2 separate regions of the Homo sapiens genome follow, and region 2 is linked to region 1. Evidence: promoter capture Hi-C in human tissues and cell types (Jung and others, 2019). All regions are on one chromosome and are shown on one strand. Each heading gives the region's core, a stretch centred on a gene start or on the middle of the fragment in contact. The rest is flanking DNA. Distances are from core to core; before and after follow the strand shown. Region 1 holds the start of FLT3 (fms related receptor tyrosine kinase 3). Region 2 holds the start of MTUS2 (microtubule associated scaffold protein 2).

What was found. Contacts are between HindIII fragments. The study calls those that stand out against the background at their distance.
Region 2: a fragment that was not itself captured here is called in contact with the fragment with the promoter of FLT3 in region 1 in 1 of the 25 tissues and cell types used here (spleen).

Annotation. Positions count from the first base shown.
Region 1 is chr13:28,098,266-28,104,264 of GRCh38, reverse strand. It overlaps FLT3 (fms related receptor tyrosine kinase 3), which reads left to right and starts at 3,689. Exons shown (of 24, transcript NM_004119.3): 1 at 3,689-3,797. The coding sequence starts at 3,755. RefSeq lists an enhancer at 3,276-3,405 and silencers at 3,516-3,575, 3,696-3,855. The HindIII fragment of the contact is 18,739 bases long and covers 1-5,999 here.
Region 2 is chr13:28,814,424-28,820,422 of GRCh38, reverse strand. It overlaps MTUS2 (microtubule associated scaffold protein 2), which reads right to left and starts at 84. Exons shown (of 16, transcript NM_001033602.4): 1 at 1-84. RefSeq lists silencers at 110-179, 270-619 and an enhancer at 1-210. The HindIII fragment of the contact is 3,226 bases long and covers 1,800-5,025 here.

The DNA.
Region 1 (5,999 bases), core at 2,440-4,939:
GTAAGATAGATGACCACTTACTCATGGCTAAGCATCATGGTGCTAAGAATCTAGATAAAATACATCCTTTCGTAGAGTTAGCACTAGACACTCCATTCAACCCAGAAACAAACTTACTCTTCTCTTTTCCGATTTCCCGTTTCAGCTCATTTCTTCTAGTTGCTTTTGACCCTTTAAGAGTTTCTTTATTACAGAATTCCTATCATGAACTCTGACACCAAAATTTCATACTTGGGCATGCATACCTGGGCGTGTAATCCAGGACTCTAGACAATTTCAGGCTACTTTCCTTAAGTGTTGCTGTGAGGAAGAAATTAGTTCTCATATTAGATATGACTCTTGGCACATCACAGAAAAACATGGGCATTACTTCACCTTCTGTTAGCCTATACCTCATACTCCAAAATATTTCAGTCTATAAGATTTGCTCCTTCTAGAATTATTTTTTCCACCAATTTCCACGGAAAATCAAGTGTTCCTAGAAACCATTCCTGGCTGGCCGCGGTGACTCACACCTGTAATCCCAGCACTTTGGGAGTCCAAGGAGGGTGGATCACGAGGTCAGGAGTTTGAGACCAGCCTGGCCAAGATGGTGAAACCCTTCTCTACTAAAAATACAAAATTAGCTGGGCGCAGTGGCGGGTGCCTGTAATCCCAGCTACTCAGGTGGCTGAGGCTGGAGAATCGCTTGAACCCGGGAGGCGGAGGTTGTAGTGAGCCTAGATCGTGCCACTGCACTCTAGCCTGGGCGACAGAGCAAGACTCTGTCTCAAAAAAAGAAACCATTCCTAACTTCTCCTCTCTCACCAACCCCCTTTTTCATGAAGATCTCTGCCTTGTGTCCAAGATTCTTGGACAAAGCAGCAGTATCTTTATGATTTTGTATCCTGAATACTGCTGCACTCAAGCTGATGTTCTGCAAATTTGTAATAATCAGTTTCATTTTTTTTTTAGTTTTTCATTTTATTTATTTATTTTTTTGAGACGGAATCTCCCTCTGTCGCCCAGGCTGGAGTGTAGTGGCGCGATCTTGGCTCACTGCAACCTCCGCTCCCCAAGTTTAAGCAATTCTCTGCCTCAGCCTCCTGAGTAGCTGGGATTACAGGCGTATGCCACCACGCCTGGCTAATTTTTTGTATTTTTAGTAGAGACAGGTTTCACCATCTTTGCCAGGCTGGTCTTGAACTCCTGACCTCGTGATCCACCTGCCTTAGCTTCCCAAAGTGCTGGGATTACAGGCATGAGCCACTACGCCCGGCGAAGACCAAGTCTTGCTCTGTTGCCCAGGCTGGAGTGCAGTGGCATGATCTCAGTTCACTGCAACATCTGCTTCCTGGGTTCAAGCAATTCCCCTGCCTCAGCCTCCCAAGTAGCTACGACTACAGTGCCACCATGCCCAGCTAATTTTTGTATTTTTGTTAGAGATGGGGTTTCACCATGTTGGTCAGGCTGGTCTCCAACTCCTGACCTCAAATGATCCACCCGCTTTGGCCTCCCAAAGCGCTGGGATTGCAGGCATGAGCCACAGCGCCCAGCCAATCAGTTTCCTTTAAGACAGTAATTGAGCTTTAAATAGAAGGTAGTGTGTTAGGTCTTGGCCATTGGAAGCTCGCTTTTCTCCCCATAACCAGCCTGTTTCATTGCTTTATCTCCTCATGTTTCACTTATTTCAGGCCATCTTCCTTCACTTCTGTTTCTGACCTAAGGTAGACACAACACTCTTTAAAAAAATTTTTAAACCCCCAGCAGCTACACAAAAACTTAAAAAATTTAAAATTGAGGTAAAATACACATACATAAAATTTACCATCTTAACTTTTTGTTTTTGTTTTTGTTTTTGAGACAGAGTCTCACTCTGTCACCCAGGCTGGAGTGCAGTGGTGTGATCTCAGCTCACTGCAGCCTCTGCCTCCCGGGTTCCAGTGATTCTCCTGCCTCAACCTCCCAGGTAGCTGGGATTACAGGCATGCGCCACTACGCCTGGCTAATTGTTGCATTTTTGTAGAGATGGGGTTTCACCATGTTGGCTAGGCTGGTCTCGAACTGCTGACCTCAGGTGATCTGCCCACCTCGGCCTCCCAAAGTGCTAGGATTACAGGCATGAGCCACCGCACCCAGCCTTAGCCATTTTTAAGTGTACAGTTTAGTAGCGTTAAGTACATTCACATTGTTGTGCAACCAGTCTCCAGAACTCTGCTCATCTTGCAAAACTGAAACTCTGTATCCATTAAACACTGGCTCCCCATTTCCCCCTGCCCCCAGCCCATGGTAACCACCATTTAACTTTCTGTCTTTATGAATTTGTAATGGGATACAGTATTGTATTTTTTGGGACTAGCTTATTTCACTTAGCATAATGTCAAGATTCATCCATATTTTAGCTGTATCAGAATTTCCCTCCTCTTTAAAGCTGAAAAATACTCAGTCGTATGTATATACTGCATTTTTGTTTATCATTCATCTGTTGTGGACATGGGTTACTTCTGCCTTTTGACTACTGTGAATAATGCTGCTTTCAACACGGGTGTACAGACATCTCTTCAAGACCCTGCTTTCAATTCTTTTGGCTACATGGCCAGAAATGGAATTGTTGGACCGTATTTTTTTTAATTTTTTGAGAAACCTCTATAGTGTTTTCCATAGTGGCTGCACCATGGTAGACACTTCTAAAGTTTCTGCCATACCCTAGGGGAAAGAATTATTGTACTGTAGACAACATCTAAGGAAAAGAACTGTATGGCCAAGAGTAAACAGTCAATTTTCATGCTTTATTAGAAAATAATTAAAATAATTAAGAGCGTGGAATTCCTAGAATTGGGAGAGACATTATGAACCATTTGGTCCATCCCTTTCCTTTACGATGAGTAAACAGAGGTTTGTGGAGGTCAAACGGCTAGTTAAGTAAGGGAAGAACCAGAACTGGCATCCAGAGCTTTCCAATCCTCAACTTATTGCAAAGAAAATAATAATAATTTTCAACTCGAAAAATTATGCGATGAAGAACAAGAACTATTGAGCGGATGATTCGCAACATCCTCTGGGATGTATTTTCTGTGTGTTTTGTTTTGAAGGCTGTTTGTTAACCTCCCTAATTGCCTTGGTTGACATTGAAACCCTGCCTGTTTTTCTTGATCCCGCCGCTGACTGGGTCCTGAGCATCCTAGGAGATGGAGGCAGAGACAAAGGAAATCAGTCCACAATTAAGAATGGAATGGTTCTTAATGGAATGCTCGCCTGTGCGCTGGCGGGAGTTGCCAGCGTGCCGAGCGGATTCAGCGCCTTTCTCAGGGCCTCAAAGATCCCAGCGCACTAGGAGGGTGGTTTGTGGCTCCCTGCAGTCCCCACGCCCCGGATCCAAACGACAGAGTTCGGGGACTCACAGGGGCAGCAAGGCGGCAGAGCCGCGGAGCCAGTGCAACTTCTCCGGCGGGACCGCGCCCAATCTTCCCCGCCGCAGTCGGGGAGCCCCGGGGGCCGCCGAGCACAGGCTGCGGACCGCGGCGGGCACGTGGGCTCGGCTGCAGCGCTGCGCCAGGCACCGGCTGCTCGGCTCTGCCCAACCTCTCCGCTCCCGCCTCGGTCCCTGCCTCTGGGGAGAGGGTTCCTCCCCCCTTCCACTTTGCACCAGTCCGAGGGAATTTGCGGTCGGTGACGCGCATCCTTAAGAGAGCCACCTGCAGCGCGAGGCGCGCCGCTCCAGGCGGCATCGCAGGGCTGGGCCGGCGCGGCCTGGGGACCCCGGGCTCCGGAGGCCATGCCGGCGTTGGCGCGCGACGGCGGCCAGCTGCCGCTGCTCGGTAAGGCCCCGCTCGCTCGCTCGCAGCCCCTCGCGGTCCCTCAGCCCCCACCCCGCAGTGTGGACCCGGGCGCGCGCCTCCTCCGGCCCAGCCGCCTCGCTCCTCCCCGCGCTCGCTCCTTCCATTGCCTCCCGCGCCCCTCCCCTCTTTCGCGCCCTCCGGACTCGCCCACTACTTGCCTGCGGCCCCGGCGTTTCCCACCCCGCGTCCTCTTCCCTCTTCTCCGAAGTCTCTCCTCTGGCTCGGGCCGCGGTCCCGAGTGGCGGCCCGGACTTCGCAGACGGCCTCGCCGAGGCGCTGCGCCGGGTCTGGGGCAGCTCGGCCCGCGCGCTCGGGTGCTGGGCCGTCCGTGGGAGTCTGCGGCCGCGAACTCGGCGCCAGGTGGCCAAGGACCTCTCCTGGCCCGGCCCTTGGATACTGTAGACACCTGGGTGTCGTCTTTAACTCTTCTTTTGAGGTTTTGATTTATGGAGGGAACTCTGATGGGAAAATGCGTCCGCGTTCTCCCCTAGAGCGAGTCATCCTCAATAACGATACCCCCCAGCCCCGCCGAATTTTGGTTGGATCAACGAATAGTTTACCTAGGAAATATTATGCAAACAGATTTACATATTAAAATACTAGCTGTCCCTTTCTTCTAGTCTCTTCTTATCCTGGCATAAACCCCAAAGGGGTTTTCAAGGACTCCGAGGACTGTCCCCAAAGAATCTGCTGGGTAGCATAGTTGTTATTGAAAAAAAAAATCTTCCCATCGGTTCGCGTCAGCTTTCTATTTGGAAAGATGAGAGGACTGAATCGAATTTGGGTTGAAGGCGACAGAGTTCTGGGTGCCCGGCAGCTCCGGTCCCTGTCCTAGGTCTGCAACCTTGGGACTGACACTCACCTCCCCCGGCCTCCGCGTCCTCATCTGTGCAGTGAGGGAGTCCGTCCGAGTCCCCTTCAGCTCTGAAATGCTAGGACTTGAAGTCTCTGTGGTAAATAGAGAAAATGCTTGCAATATAGAAGTGCAGGAATTATATCCAATAGCTTTTGTTACAAATAATTCTGAAATATAAAAAGTAAAAAATGGAAATCGGGGGAAAAGAGTTGAAAAACAAAGACATTTTAGTTCTTAAATAGTTATCTTTACTAGTTAGTAAATCTGTAATTTCAAATGTGTAGTACAATATGTTTTCCAGATTCCGTTAATACAAAATGTTAGCTTTCTATTATGTATGATATTAAGTAGTAAGTGCATTTTTCAGAAGCATAATGGGCTTTCTAAAGGTATAAGCATCAATACTTGCAACGATATTTAAGCTGCATGGAATTCTTTTCTATTTAGGAAAGAATTCAGAAATTTCTATGTCTCTCTCTCCAGATATTTCTAAATGAAGTATAATTGGCACACAGTAAATATGCACACATCTTAAGAGTACAATTTCATTAGTTTTCACATATGTACGTGCCCAAATAACCACGATCAGACTGAGATATAGAGCAATTCTAGCTCCACCCTCTCTGTCAGTACCCCCTCCCCAGGTAGCCACTATTCTGACTTCTGATGCCATGGATTGCTTTTGCCTATGTTTGAACTTCATGTAAACCAAACCATCATCGTGTGCTCTTTTATGTCCACCTTCTTTTACTCAACATTATAATAATAAGATTCAACCTTGTTCTCTGTAGCAGTGTTTTTTTTTTTAATTGCTGGTACCATTCCGTGGTATGAATAGATCTTATAATTTATTTTATCCATTATGTTCACGAAGCACATGGAAGTTGTTCCAATTTTGTGTAATTATGCATAGCACTGCTGTGAACATTGTTTTATATATGGTGGACATAAACACCAGTATAAAGGATTATGCCCACAAGTAGAATTCCTGGATCATAGGGAAGGGATATGTTCAGGTTTGGTAGATACCGTCAAACGGTTTTCCACAGTGGTTACACCAATTTCCACTCCCACTAGCAGTGTATGGCAGTTCCAGTTCCTCACATCTTTGCCAATACTTTGTATTATGGATTTTCTTGAATAAAGAAGGATAAAGTGAGAAGCTTAAACATGAGAACTTTAAAATGGTTAATAGCCTTAAATTCTTTGAATTAGAACATGGGATCCCAATTTCCCTTATATTGTAAACACTACTTTTTTTTTTTTTTTTTTTTTTGAGACGGAGTCTTGCTCTGTCACCCAGGCTGGAGTGTAGTGGCGCGATC
Region 2 (5,999 bases), core at 2,163-4,662, 720 kb before region 1:
GCCCTGAGAGCCGGCGGCGGCGGCGCAGGTGGAGCGCGAGGGGCGCCCCCGCACCTGGAGCCGCCGGCGCTCGCTATCACCTCTGCCCGCCCACGCCCGCGCCGCGGCTGCGCTCCGCTCCGCGCCCCCGCACTCACCTCGGCGCAGGCACCGCCCAGGCCGCCGCCCCCGCTCGAGGGCCGGGGCGCAGCCGGGGACCGGAGCCGCCCGCACGACGCCCAGGCGCTCCCGGCTCCGCCGCGGCCGCGGCTGCTCCTCCAGCCGCCTCGCCTGGACAAAGAGAAGCCGCGGGGCCGGCGGCCGCCCAGCCCAACCTTCGCAGCGCGCCACGCAGCCGGCGCGCCTCGCCCGCGAGGTGCCGTCCGCGGTGACAGTGGCCGGGCGGCGAGCGGGCCCGAGCGGTAGGCGGCGCGGGGCAGCTGATGCGCGCACCCCCTCCCGGCCGCCCGGAGACGCACTCGCCGAGACCCAGGCGCCTCCTCCCGGCCCGCGCTCCGCGCCCCGCGCCCCGCGTCGCAGCTCCGCAGCCGGGAGCCGTAGCGCCCTCTGCCGACGGCCCCTGCGCCCGCTCCTGCGCGCGCGCCTGCCCGCCCCAGCCCCAGCCCCAGCCCCAGCCCCAGCCCCAGCCCCAGCCCCCGCCCCCGCCCCAGCTCCCGCCTCAGCCCCAGCCCCAGCTCCAGCCCCAGACCCAGACCCAGACCCAGCCTCCGCAGGCGGTGGGCGCGGCGCGGGCCGCTGCCCGCTGCGCGGCTGGTCACCGTGGTGCCCTAGCATCGGACCCCAGGAGAAAGGAGTAAGAATGAGTTGGCCGTTCCAGGGCAGGCCTCCAGGAATGGGTTCCGCTGTTTTCCGCTCAGAACAGAAGAGGGAGCCGCTTCGAATTAGGCGCAGCAGGAGGCATTGGGGTTCAGCATCGGGAAGAACTTTGGAGGACGCTAGGGTGCCTGATTCATAGGAGCCCAAAGCCAGTCTCTGAAAAGATTTGCGCAAAAGGCAGGCGTTTCTTTCTAGAAGCAAGCTTATTTCTATGTTTAATGAGCACCAAATGTGCCTCCCCACTGTCCGAGGGGTTCCAGCGAGCCTTGACTGCTCTTATGGTAAGGTAAATAGATTAATTAATGATTTCTCAAAGACCTTTTTCCAGTCCTACCTGAAATGCTCAGACTCCCTCACGCGGTGCACCTGGAGGTTTGAAAAGGCAAGCGAAACCAGAGGACTTCTGCAGACTGATTCAAACAGCAATGGAATAAACATTTACCATTATAAAGATGAAACGATGTTGCTGGTCTTTGCACTATTTAGGTTGGCGTTTTTTGTTTTTAGGGGATGTCTTTCCAAACCACTGTGTTAACCAATACTTTATGACAGTTAATTTTTTTTTTTAACCAACTGGACTACTTGGTGAAGGGAAATCATGAAATGGCACTTTTTTTTTTCAGACCACTGTCTTTAAAAATTATTCCAGAAGCTCTCCCTTCTCCCCTGGAAGAATCTGGGGCAAATTTCATAGCTTTTCCTGTCACTTTCAGGTGTTCATAAACAGTCAGATTTGCTGATAATAAAAAGTCCAGCCCAATCCAAATCAAAACTTTAATCGCAATCCATTCAAGCCTTCCCCACTAGCCTCCCACCACCCACCAGACCCCAACCTGACCCAAGCTCAGAAGCCTGCAAGGAGGAGGAAAACGACCTTCGCTTCCTGCTTCTGTGTTCTCCCCAGCTAGCTCTGTGAAGACGGGTTCCACCGCCGGGCACGGAGGCTCACGCTTGTAATCCCAGCACTTTGGGAGGCTGAGGCCGGTGGATTACTTGAGGTCAGGAGTTCGAGACCAGCCTGGCCAACATGGTGAAACCCTGTCTCTACTAAAAATACAAAAATTAGCTGGGTGTGGTGGCGTGCACCTGCAATTCCATCTCCTCAGGAGAATTGCTTGAACCTGGGAGGTGGAAGTTGCAATGAGCCGAGATCATGCCACTGCACTCCAACTGGGCGACAGAGCAAGCCTCTGTCAAAAAAAGAAGCCGGATGCGGTGGCTCACGCCTATAATCTCAGCACTTTGGGAGGCCGAGGTGGATGAATCACGAGGTCAAGAGATCGAGACCATCCTGGCCAACGTGGTGAAACCCCGTCTCTATGAAAAATACAAAAAGTTTAGCTGGACATGGTGCCACATGCCTCTAGGCTCCTCTACTCGGAGGCTGAGGCAGGAGAATCGCTTGAACCCGGGAGGTGGAGGTTGCAGTTCACGGAGATCGCTCCACTGCACTCCAGCCTGGCGACAGAGCGAGATCCGTTTCAAAAAAAAAAAAAACACTGGTTTCTCAAGTTGGGCAGGGTGGGGTTCTGACCCTGCAACTTCAGCCTCAGCTTCACTGGTGGTCAGCCTCATTCAGGCCCTCTGCAAGGCACCATGCCCTGGCAGTCAGTCCCAGCTACCTTCCACCACGTGCGTGCTGACCCACGGACACCAACTGGCATTTGGCCCATCACGCTATAGAAGTGCAGGCCACTGTCACTGCAGTTCTCTTTTCTTCTTCTCTGGTCACAGGTAACTCTGACCGGCCTCTTTCCTTGAAGCTTCTCAGCCATCTCTGGGTTCATGCATGTCCCCACACTCCAGGTGACACATGCCAGGCTCTCCAAGTAGTTCTTTGGAAGCATGCCTTTCTTTGCATGAAGTGGGTGGGTCCTCCTTCTCCCTGTCAGCACCGTGTCGTTCTCATCTTCTCCCTTGATTGCTCTCTCCTTTCCTTCAATTTGGTCTGAAGGTGGCAGAACCCCAACTTAGCAAATCCTACAAAGATGGTCCAATACCTCCATTTATATGGATTTATGTGTGGGGATACCTATCTGTGTGGTGGCATGGAGGGAGGTGATCCCCTGAGATCTTGGAAGCTTGAGCAACTGACAGCCTTCAGCTGTCACACATTTGGATCCACCACAGAGCTCATACCAAGGTCACACATTCCCCAGCTGTTTCCAGCTCACAACGGAACATGGTGAGAGCGCTAGAGCTATGCCCTTTCTGCCTCTAGTGGGCAGTCTTTGCTCTGGAATTCCTACCACCCTACCAGGGCTTTCTCAGAATGTGCTGCAGTCTGGAGCTCTTCCTACCCAATCTTCTTCCCTTCCCTCTCTCCATTCACAAGTGTCAGACCTGTATTGCAGTCAGAAGGCACTCCTCACCTGCATGCCAGGCTCCTTCTCCCTCCTGCACTATCCTGCACAGGTGTTTTCTTTAAAATATTTTGGCACATCTAATCCTATCTTGACATCTGCTTTTCAGAGGTCCCAAACTGTCATAGTTATCTATTGGCCCACCTGGCAGCATTCCAAGATAAGTCTTATTTTAACAGTTGGTTATGCTGTATTTAGAAACTGTGAAAAGAACAATGGCAAAATCATGGAGCCAACCTGAATGTCAATGAACAGTTGACTGGATAAAGAAGATGTGGTCCATATATTAATGCATCATGGAATATTATGCAGCCATCAAAAAGAATGAAATCATGTCTCTTGCAGTGACATGGGCTGGAGCTGGAGGCCATTATCCTAAGTGAAGTAATTCAGAAACAGAAAACCAAGTACCACACATTCTCACTTATAAGTGGGAGCTAAACAATGAGTACACATGGACATAAAGATGGAAATAATAGACACTGGGTCACCAAAAGAGGGGAGGGTGGGCAGGGGGCGAGAGCTGAAAAATTACCTATGGGGTACAGTGTTCACTGTTTGGGTAATGGGTACACTAGAAGCCCAATCTCCAGTATGCTCATGTAACAAACAGGCACATGTACCCCCTGAATCTAAAATAAAATTAATTTTTTTTGAGATGGTGTTTCACTCTGTCACCCAGGCTGGAGTGCAGTGGCACAATCTCAGCTCGCCACAACCTCCACCTCCAGGTTCAAGTTATTATCCTGCCTCCGCCTCCCGAGTAGCTGGGATTACAGGTGCATGCCACCATATCCAGGCTAATTTTTGTATTTTTAGTTAAGATGGGTTTTCACCATGTTGGCAAGGCTGTTCTCGAACTCCTGACCCCAAGTGATCCGCCCGCCTCAGCCTCCCAAAGTACTGGGATTACAGGCATGAACCACCGCGCCCAGCCAAATTAAATTAAAAAAAAAAAAAGCTGTGAAAGGAAGAGTAGAATGTTCTCTTGAATTAAATATATATATATATATATATATATATATATATATATATATGATCAGCAAGTATCATAGTGTATCAAGTATCGTAGTGTAGATTCCTTCCCAAAGCAGAGACTGGTAGAATGACTTGGATACAGATAGTTAATTGTTATTGTTTTTTGTTTGTTTGTTTGTTTTTTGAGGCAGAGTCTTGCTCTGTTGCCCAGACTGAAGTGCAGTGGTGCAATATCGGCTCACTGCAAACTCCACCTCCCGGCTTCAAGTTATTCTCCTTCCTCAGCCTCCTGAGTAGCTGGGATTATAGGCGCCCGCCGCCGTGCCCGGCTAATATTTGTATTTTTAGTAGAGATGGGGTTTCACCACGTTGGCCAGAATGGTCTCGAACTCCTCACCTCGTGATCCACACACCTCAGCCTCTCAATCCTGCTGGGATTACGGGTGTGAGCCACCACGCCCAGCTAGATAGTTTATTTTTGAAGGTGATCTCAGGAAGCAGGAATGATGAAATTGAGATGTTAAGACAGAGAAGTATGAAAGGCAACTTAAAAGTATATTCTCAAGGCCACTGTTATATGTAACAGGCACACAAGGACATAATACCACTTGGATCTCTGAGGAGCTTACAATGGTCATTTCAAAGACACAGGGCCGAGCATTTACCCTCTGGGCTCCTGTTCTCCATTGATTGGAATTGCCTGTGGAGCTTTAACTCCCAAAGGCGCCTAGTGCTTTAGAAAAGGCTCTAGGCAGAGAATCAGAGTGACCCATAGCCGCATCCTTGAGATAAGACATTGTCAACTCACAGGGAGCACCCATCAGAACTATGGCTGAGAGGGAGCCAAGGAGATGTGCAGGGCAGCACAGGTGTCTGCTGGAGCCTTTTCCCAGGGCCTTACTAGACTGAGGAGCATGTGGGTAGAACAGAGGCATCTGCCTTGTGAAATTCCAAAATGATGAAATGCCAGTGGGAAAAGCCTGAGGAAGAAAGAATAGAGTGGCGTTTGCAAGTCATGAATAACACTTGGGTAGCCAACTGATGTACCAGAGAGCAAGGTAGGTATTAGGGGTCAGGGCCTCTGGGAAGGGATGGGAGCCAGGATTGGACAGAGGGAGAGTTTGAACCATGATTCAAGTCCAACAAAGCCGCTGTCCTAACCACAAGAAGTCCTGGAGCACATACAGAGTGGTGTGCTGAGCCTGCTCCTACCAGCTCCTGAGCATCACTTGTTAAATTTTTGTGAATTGGTTGTTAAAACAGCCATTATTAAAGATTAAATTATATAAACCTACAATTACATTTATTTATTGAAAACAAAGTGAATACTCAAAACTCATCCTTCCCTAATTACTACATGAGCAGTAAAGTACACTGTTGAGGTTTTTTTGTTTTTCTTTTTTTAATTGAGACCGGGTCTTGCTATATTGCTCAGTCTGCTCCCGAACTCCTGATCTCAAGCGATCCTCCCACCTGTGCCTCCCAAAGTACTGGGATTACAGGTGTAAGCCACCTCCCCCTGGCCAGTGTTGAGTTTATTTACCACTGGCATAGCTGTATGATGGAAATACTATGTAGTAGTGTACTATTTTGCATCTATTCCCAACTTCACATTTAGTGATACTACTTTGGTAGCTTGAAACCATCTATGGAGGATGTATTTTCACCACAGAAATTAGCAAACACTGCAAATCAGGATGTTTTCCTTAAAGGAGCCCGTTATTAAACATTTACATGCACACTGCTACATGTAGGACTCATTCAGAATTGTCCCAGGGTGGGCTGAATGGTTAAGGTCTCTATGTCCCTACCAGATCCACCATTGGCTATGGACTTTCCAGG